Regions from separate parts of the Homo sapiens genome. Here region 2 is linked to region 1. Evidence: promoter capture Hi-C in human tissues and cell types (Jung and others, 2019). All regions are on one chromosome and are shown on one strand. The core of a region is centred on a gene start or on the middle of the fragment in contact, and the rest is flanking DNA. Distances in the headings are between cores, read along the strand shown.

Region 1 (4,296 bases), core at 1,776-4,275:
TTGCTATGTTGCCCAGGCTGGTCTGGAACTCCTGGCTTCAAGAGATCCGCCTGCCTCGGCCTCCCAAACTACTGGGATTACAGGTATGAGCCACCACACCCGACCCTCATTTGCTTTAGGTCAAACTGGCTCAGGTCATAGATCAGGAAAGATTCAGCATCAACACCTTTTATTTTCCTAGGATAAATAGACTCTTCGAACTGGTATGACTTAACATGGAGTAGCACAACAATTGTTACAAGGTCTCATTTTCAAAATTGATGATTTTAATTGTAAAACAATGATTCCTCTTATTTTGCACCCCTGATTCTCTCATCCAACACCAGAGAAACTGCATCTAAAAAACACCCCACTTTAGGAGGCCGAGGTGGGTGGATCACCTGAGGTCAGGAGTTCAAGACCAGCCTGGCCAACATGGCAAAACCTTGCCTCTACTAAAAATACAAAAGTTAGCCAGGCGTGGTTGATATGCGCCTGTAGTCTCAGCTACTGGGAAGGCTGAGGCGGGAGAATCACTTGAAACTGGTAGATGGAGGTTGCAGTGAGCCGAGATCGCGCCACTGCACTCCAGCCTGGGTGACAGAGCGAGACTCCATCTCAGGGGGAAAAAAAAAAAAACACCTGTAGCCGGGCGCAGTGGCTTACACCTGTAATCCCAGCACTTTGGAAGGCCATGGCAGGTGGATCACTTAAGGTCAGGAGTTCAAGACTAGCCTGGGCAACACGGTGAAACCCCGTTTCTACTAAAAATACAAAAAATTAGCCAGGTGTGGTGGCAGGCGCCTGTAATCCCAGCTACTTCGGAGGCTGAGGCAGAACTGCTTGAACCCCGGAGGCAGAGGTTGCAGTGAGCCGAAATCACACCACTGCACTCCAGCCTGAGCGACAGAGTGAGACTCTGTTTCATAATAATAATAATAATAATAATAATAATAATAATAATTAATAAATGAAAAACACCCAACTGTGCACCTTTCCTAGCTCTCTTGCCATCCACTCTTTCCCAGTGCGGAGCAAGAAGTCCTCCCCTGGGCTCACAGACACGGAGGGCTCCCACAGGAAAATGTGTTCTGGGAGGCTTGGGACCACCCCTCACAGGTGTGCTTCTCTTGCTGCCATTTTCCCCCAGGTGCTGCTGGAGTTCCAGAGCTACACCTGCTCAGAGAACAATCTGGGGAGGAAATGTCCCAGAAAGAGGCAGCAACTTGCGGGAGGCCACACAGCAATTTTGTGGGAGTGGCAGTCAGGCCCCGGGGCCCGAGGACAGACATAGGAATTCCCAGGCCAGGCCTCCTCCTGCAATTCCATGGCCTGTGATCCTCTGTCCCAAACGCCACACATAATTAGAAGTTATAATCCTGTAATTCCATGATGACATCTTTAAACTTAAATATACCTCAAAACTACTTTTTTTTTTTTTAATGCTAAAAGCAACTTCACAAAAAAGAAGTTTTCCCACTCTGCCCCACACTGTCCTGCCCAGGGCTCCTCACCAGTGAGCAAAGCCCACAGTCTCTCTGTGTCACCTGGGAGAAGGAGGAAGATGCCAAGACCATTTAAGAACTGGATCCTAAGGCTTTGAACAATTAAGAATTGATTCGTTTATGGGAAAGTTTCACTTCCCTATTTATAATTATGCACTGTCGTATCTATTATAAAAACGAAAATCAACAACAATCTCTCCACCCTCTCAGTGATCCCTGGCCAAGGGCCAAAAGCTATTTTTAGACTTGCTCAGGACCTAGAGGGAGGAAGGCTTGGAAGGCATCACCATGACTCCCGGCTCCAAAGCATCTTTGTAGCCCAGGCCCTGCCGCCTGCGGGTATCCCAGGGCCCCTGCTCCACAGGCTGGGGTCGCTTTTGAGGGACTGAGCTCCCTGACTGTTATCTTCTGGGCCCAAGAGCTCCTGGACATGCCAAGAACCTGCGAGGCCGGCACCCGCCACCCGCCGCCCGCCGCCCGCCGCCCGCCGCCAGCCCCCGCCAAGTCTCCCGGACAACAAGACAAATCCGCTTTGGCACACAGTGAGACGCACAAGACCGTGGGCCTCACCTGCGGTGCTCACGCCCTCCTGGACGACCCGGAGCGGAGGAGGGTGCAACGCCGGAGGCTCCCTCCCACCAGCAGCTCTCCCCTGCTCCCTGAAAAGTCCCACAGGCGGACTTTGGAAGCATTTTGGAGGCAAAAAGAGACCGCCGGCCGGGCGCAGTGGCTCACGCCTGTAATCCCAGCACTTTGAGAGACCGGGGCGGGAGGATCCCTTGAGCCCAAGAGTTCGCGACCAGTCTGGGCAACACAGCGATACCCCAGTTCTACAAAAAATTAGCGTGGCGAGGTGGCGCGCCTGCAGTCCCAGTTACTCGGGAGGCTGGGGCGGGAGGATCGCTGGAGGCCAGGAAGTCGAGGCTGCAGTGAGCTATAATCGCGCCACTCTACTCCAGCCTGGGCGACAGAGCGCCTAAAATAAATATGAGACCGCCAACACGCCTGGGATGGTCTGTCTCCACCCGCGCTCCCACCAAGCGCTCTTGCAACGCGCCCAGAGGCCAAGGGCGCCAGCGCAGCCAGGAACGGGTCCTTTCCCCAGGCACCAGGGATCGCAAGCGAGGGGTGGCGGGGGGTGGGAGGGGGGAGACCCAAGCACCCCTCCAGGTCCTCCGCCCGCACCTGCGCGGAGCGGCCACATGCGCCTCCCCTACTCCCCGCCCAGTCCCGGATGCCACCTGCCCGGGACGCCGGGGACATCGCCGCCCCCACTCCTCCCCGCCAGCCTCCGTCCGGCCAGCGCCGGCCCAGTGCGCCCCCTCCCCCTCCCGGCCTAGTGGACCCCGACTGCGCGCTCCCACGGCCCCTGCAGGGCCCGGGGGAAAGGAGGTCTGGAGCCCGCAGGTCCCCGCCCGCCCGCCCGAAGCCGCCCACCTTCCGAAAGTAGCCGTCGTTCTCCTTCTCCAGCGGCTGGGGGGCCGCGGGCAACAGCGCGTCGGTCATGCTAGCGGCGCGGGCGCGGAGGGCGGACGGCGGACTGAGGCGCGGCGGCTGAGGCTGGCCCGAGAGGACGTGCGGCCCCGCCCCTGTCCCCGCCCTTCCCCGCCCCTCCACTCCCACCCCGTCCCGCGGCCCTTCTAGCCCCGCCTGAGGCCGAGCACTGGAGCCCTGGAGACGCGCCCCGCCCCGTCGCGGGCCCCGAACCCGCGCCCCTTGAGGCGCTCGTCACCCGGAGAGCTGCGCCCTGGGCGCGGCGCCTCGGGGTTGTCTGTGGGCGTCGTGGCTGACTCAACTTTGCGAGTGCCGCGAGAGCGCAGGAAAGGCACTGGGGTCTCAGGGGCCGCAGCGAAGCCCTGGCTGTGGACCTGCACCCTGCCCTGGAGCCCGGGGAGTCAGTGAGGAAGGCGTGGATCCAGGCGCGTCCCTCCTGGGTGAAGCCCGTGCGCCGCGGGGGAAGGGGCCAGACTCGACGCCACGTCGAGGGCGCGGCGGGAGCTCTGGGCCCTGGGCCCGGCGGTTTGGAAAAGCTTTTCCCAAGAGGGGAGCCCATGGCGGAGGGAGCGTTGACTGCCCCGCCGAGCGCCTTGCCCGGACTACTCGGGCTTGTTGGCATGGGATCAACTCAGCCGATTCCCTGTCCGCGCTGCAAAGACGAGTGGGATCCGCTGGGCTCGCGGACTGCCCTGAGAGAGGGGACCAGGAGGGGTTTTGCGCCCCAGACACGGCAGATGTCCTTGAGCACAGTTCTTTTTTTTAAGAGATGGGACCTCGCTCTGTCGCCCAGGCTGGAGAGCAGTGTTGCGATCTCGACTCTTTGCAGCCTCGACCTCCCAGGATCAAGCGATGCTCCAGCCTCAGCCTCCCAAGTAGCAGGGGCTGCAGGCGCGGGCCAACGCGCCCGGCCTTTTTATTTATTTTTTTTATTTTTTTATTTGAGACGGAGTCTCGCCCTGTCGCCCAGGCTGGAGTGCAATGGCGCGATCTCGGCTCACTGCAACTTCCGCCTCCCGGGTTCAAGCGATTCTCCTGCCTCAGCCTCCCGAGTAGCTGAGACTACAGGCGTCCACCACCACACCCAGCTAATCTTCAGTAGAGACAGTTTCACCTTGTTGGCTAGGCTTGTCTTGAACTCCTGACCTTGTGATCTGCCCACCTCGGCCTGCCTCCCAAAGTGCTGGGATTACAGCTTTTGTTTTGTTTTGTTTTGTTTTGTTTTTAAATAGATGCGGGGTCTCACCATGATATCAAGGCTGGCCTCGAACTCCCGACCTTAAGTGATCCTCACTCGTCTCGCTCTGTCGCCCAGGCT
Region 2 (4,296 bases), core at 525-3,024, 1.4 Mb before region 1:
TGCAATGAGCTATGATTTTGCCACTGCACTCCAGCCTGGGCGATAAAGAAAGGCCCTGTCTCTAAATAAGAATAATAAGACCCTTCACAAGCCTCAACAAAGATAGATCCAAGATCCTGGCTCCTCACTCCACAGGTAGCCAGAGAAGACCCTGCCATCTCCTGAGCCTACCCTAACCTCTCCCACTAGGTTTGATCCTCTCTCCTTTGTGTCCTGACCCACATGACTGCCTGCACCCATCCCCACCTTGGTAACATTCCCCAGGAAATCATTTTAGTGCCTCTTTCCTGCCCTTATGCCTCTAATCTATTTTGATTTTCTGTTACTGTGCCTAGGAATGCCAATGCATTGTTGAACAGAAGGGGCTAGGCATCAGGGACAGCATCCCACCTCTCTGGCCATCTTTTAGCCATTAAAATTTGCCATCACCTATTGTTGACCTGCCGCCGAGCTCCATGGAAAGAACACAAGATACGTATTGCAATGGTGTGAAAACATTTGGCTCCAATTTTTTCTATATATATATAAATTTTTTTCTCCCTTTTCTTCCTCCTTTTGACCCACAGAAAAGAGAACCCTAAGTCCCCACACTCTGTCACTTCATAAATCTCTCTCTAATTGCACCCTTGGGGTCTCTCTTGGCCAGTCTTTCAGAAGAAGGGCTACCTGGCCTTCCAAGGATTGGTTTATCACCTTAGTTGCTTTTTGCCAGGTTTTCTCCATCACAAGAGTCTTTTCTTTAATGACCTGAGCTATTTACAATAAGGAAATAACGTGGTCATAATCAGAGCTGGGGTGATTTTGCTTTATACAAGCCTCTCTCTCTCTCTCTCTCTCTCTCTCTCTCTCTATATATATATATATATATATATATACACACACATATACACACACACACACACACATATGTATATACACACACATATATGTATATATGTATATATGTGTGTATATATGCATATATATGTATATATGGTGTGTGTATATATGTATGTTGTGTGTGTGTGTGTGTGTATGTATAAAAGGCATCTATCTGCCCTTCTCCACCTCCTGAAATATTCCTCAACTGAGATTTCCATCAAACCCACCAATGACCTAGGAGTATCTAGGTGGGTCTCCTTGCACTGTTGACCATGGTGAGTTCACTTGGAAAGCCCTGCTCTAGGGACAATGTGCATCCTATTCTGTGCCCCCAGCATGCATATGCCCAAATCCCCCAAGAATAGAAGAAAGACAATGCATTGCTATTTCCGTCTCCAAAATTACCGTGGATGGCATTGATAAGTCTGAAGGAGGGAGAAAAGGAAGAATAGAAGGATAGGGCGTTAGCGAGAGGGCAAGGAGAACAAAGGAAGGCATTGTTGGACAATAAGCAGCAGGTGAACAGGAACACTTTGTCCAGAGGGCCTCCACAGTGGGGAGGGAGCAGGTAGGAAGACAGCGGTACTTAGAATCTTAGCCAGAGTTCAAATTATAGGGCACTGTTTCATTCCCCAAATCAGGTATTTAGAAACACAGATAGAGGGAATCCCTTTCCAGGCTTCCATTGTCTCCCATAAAAGCATGCTGGATGGGCATAGAGAGAAAAAATGAAGCAGAAACTCACAAAATTAGACTCAACATGAATTTGATGGGGTGTAGAAACGTCCTGCAATCAGAGGAGACATGCTCCCACCTTTAAACATGAGAGGGCTGGGCTGGCGTTGCTGCCTCAAATATAGGATGAACTTGAACTTCAGATAAGCAATGAACAATTTTTTATAAGTATAAAGTATGTCCAAATATTTCATGGGGCACACATATAACAAAAAGTATTGGTTGTTTATCTAAAATTCCATTTTAATCTGGCTTTTTTTTTTCCTTTTGCTAAATCTTGCCAGATTTAGATCAGGCAAAATTTCCAAAGCTTCTTTCAGTTTTTCCATTCTCTGTTGTGTGTCCCCACCCCAAGGGGAGAGCCACTGGGGCCTCAGAAGAGGCAGGGGACACAAGAAGATAAGAAGAGTTCTAGGATCAGGGCAGCAAATTACGGCTGAGGCTACACGCATAGGGAAGGGGTTGTTGAAACAGGCAAAACCAAGTGTGCCAAGATTTGCTTTAAAAAGAAAAAAAAAAAAACCACAATGGCTCACACAATGGCTCATCAGCAGTGCGGCTGACCCAGTGAGTCCAGACACCACAACCTACGGCAAAATCTGAACTGTGGAACTGTCACGGAGCAACTGGGAAAACATGAATTCATAGTTAAACCGATAAAATTCTGTGTAATCTGTCTTTGTAACCCCAGAAACTGAAACTTATGCTTAAAAAAAGACTAATATTCTTTTTTTTTTTTTTTGTCTAAACCACTAATTATTTTACCTGGAGGAAATTCCTCTATTATTTTCACTGCTGGAAAATCACAGGGTGGTTAGTACTGCTAGTACCTGTCACAGACAGACGTAAACAATGCGATCCAATAAAACCTTATATAGCACATTGCACACAATAGTGGCTTGCCAGACTCACCCAGTAAAACAAAACATCAAAGCAGAAAAAATTAACCAAAAATAGCTTGCACGGGGAAACGTGGTAAGCGAGTTTGAAGACTGAATTCCTAATATCCCTGGACAACAGACTTCACTGATACGAGATAGTGGAAGGAAAGGGTCCCGGGGAGGGGCTGACAATGAGCTGTCAAGATCTGACCGCAACTCGCTTCTCCTCTGCACCTGGGTTCATAGCATAGTCAGGCCACTAATAGTCCTGCATGTCGGTTAGCACTTACAGTTTGCAAATTGTTTTTACATGCACTGGCTCATTGGGTCTTCCCCCAATGCTGTACAATCAGATAAAATCCTGCCATTCTCCAGGAACTGACTCAACCAAAAATGCTCACCACAAAAATGCTCAGCCTAGTTGGGGAGGTACCCATTTATCAAATTGCCGTACTAATGAAAATCCAATTATAGACAGAGATAAATTAAAGGACTTGGATCTGACTTTGCGCAGGGTGATAGGGGAGGCTCCCTGGAAAAGGTGATGTTAGACCTGAGCTCAAAGGCAAATAGGATGGGGGAAGCAGCAACTTCCAGTGAAAGGGCAGAGTCCTGAGCAGGGAAAGCCTGAAGGTATGCAGAGAGAGTGAAATAGGCAACTGTGGGGGTGGAGGTGGGCAGAGGAAGAGAGGAGAAGAGAGGGGCAAGGCAGAGAAGGAGGATGAGCAGGTGCCAGACCATCCAGGGCCCCAGAGGCCATTCCCAGGGTTTGGGAAGCCACGGAAGGGTGTTTAGCAAGGAGGTGAGAGTTTCGGATCTCCTTTGCAGTGTGCCTTCTCCACTTCACAGCTATGATCCAGGGTCCGGAGCCCTGCCTTCCTTCTAGGAATTTATAAGTTTCCTAAATTATCAAGAGAAAGTTTGGGGCTGGGTGCAGTGGCTCGTGCGTGTAATCCCAGCACTTTGGGAGGCCGAGGCGGGCGGAGCACCTGAGGTCACGAGTTTGAGACAAACCTGGCCCACATGGCAAAACCCTGTCTCTATTAAAAATACAAAAATCAGCTGGGCATGGCAGCGGGCGCCTGTAATCCCAGCTACTTGGGAGGCTGAGGCAGGAAAATCACTTGAACCCGGGAGGCAGAGGTTGCAGTGAGCCAAGATTGCACCACTGCACTTCAGTCTGGGCAACAGAGAAAGACTGTCTCAAAAAAAAAAAAAAAAAAAAAAAGAGAGTTTGATAACAAAGAGTGAGTCAGATGTCACTTAACAGAGCCTCATTTGGAATTTGGAAGTGCACCCCTCCTATGAGTGGCCAACGGGCAAAGCTAACTGCAGTGGAAGAAAAGTCCTTAGTGGATGCCAACTTCTTGAATCTAGTGGGAAGACAATCAATGTTTCTCCTCAGGATGGCACAGCTTTGACCTTTGCTCAGGTGGACACTAGAGGGCCTCTTGGTCATTAGTTATGGGTGAGAATCATGCCGGAGGAGGTTAGGCTGCCTCTGCCCTTCATTCTTGGTTTCCTGGAGGTCTGGTGTCATTGTTGCAAGCCCCATCCACCTTTCTTTCTCTTGTTACACTCATTCATCTCTGTACATCTCCTCTATCTTAAGAATTCTTTCAAGTTTGGAAAGTGAGAAACTTTTCTTTATTTATAAGCATTCTTCCAAATGCCTAAGTTCATCTTTCTGAGGCCTAATTTTGGATTATCCATAGCTAGAACTAACTTTCTTTCTTTCTTTTTTCTTTTTCTTTCTTTCTTTCTCTTCCCTCCTTCCCTCTTTCCTTTCTTTTTCTTTCTTCCTTCCTTCCTTCTTTCC

The links. Contacts are between HindIII fragments. The study calls those that stand out against the background at their distance.
Region 2: a contact is called between a fragment that was not itself captured here and the fragment with the promoter of RHPN2 in region 1, in 1 of the 25 tissues and cell types used here (psoas muscle).

The regions. Positions count from the first base shown.
Region 1 is chr19:33,061,863-33,066,158 of GRCh38, forward strand. It overlaps RHPN2 (rhophilin Rho GTPase binding protein 2), which reads right to left and starts at 3,026. Exons shown (of 15, transcript NM_033103.5): 1 at 2,922-3,026. The coding sequence starts at 2,990. RefSeq lists enhancers at 1,720-2,348, 3,561-4,060 and silencers at 2,634-2,853, 2,914-3,413. The HindIII fragment of the contact is 19,604 bases long and covers 1-4,296 here.
Region 2 is chr19:31,672,570-31,676,865 of GRCh38, forward strand. No RefSeq gene overlaps it. Among named protein-coding and RNA genes, the nearest start is that of LINC03103, 87 kb to the left of the region's middle. The HindIII fragment of the contact is 4,885 bases long and covers 1-4,217 here.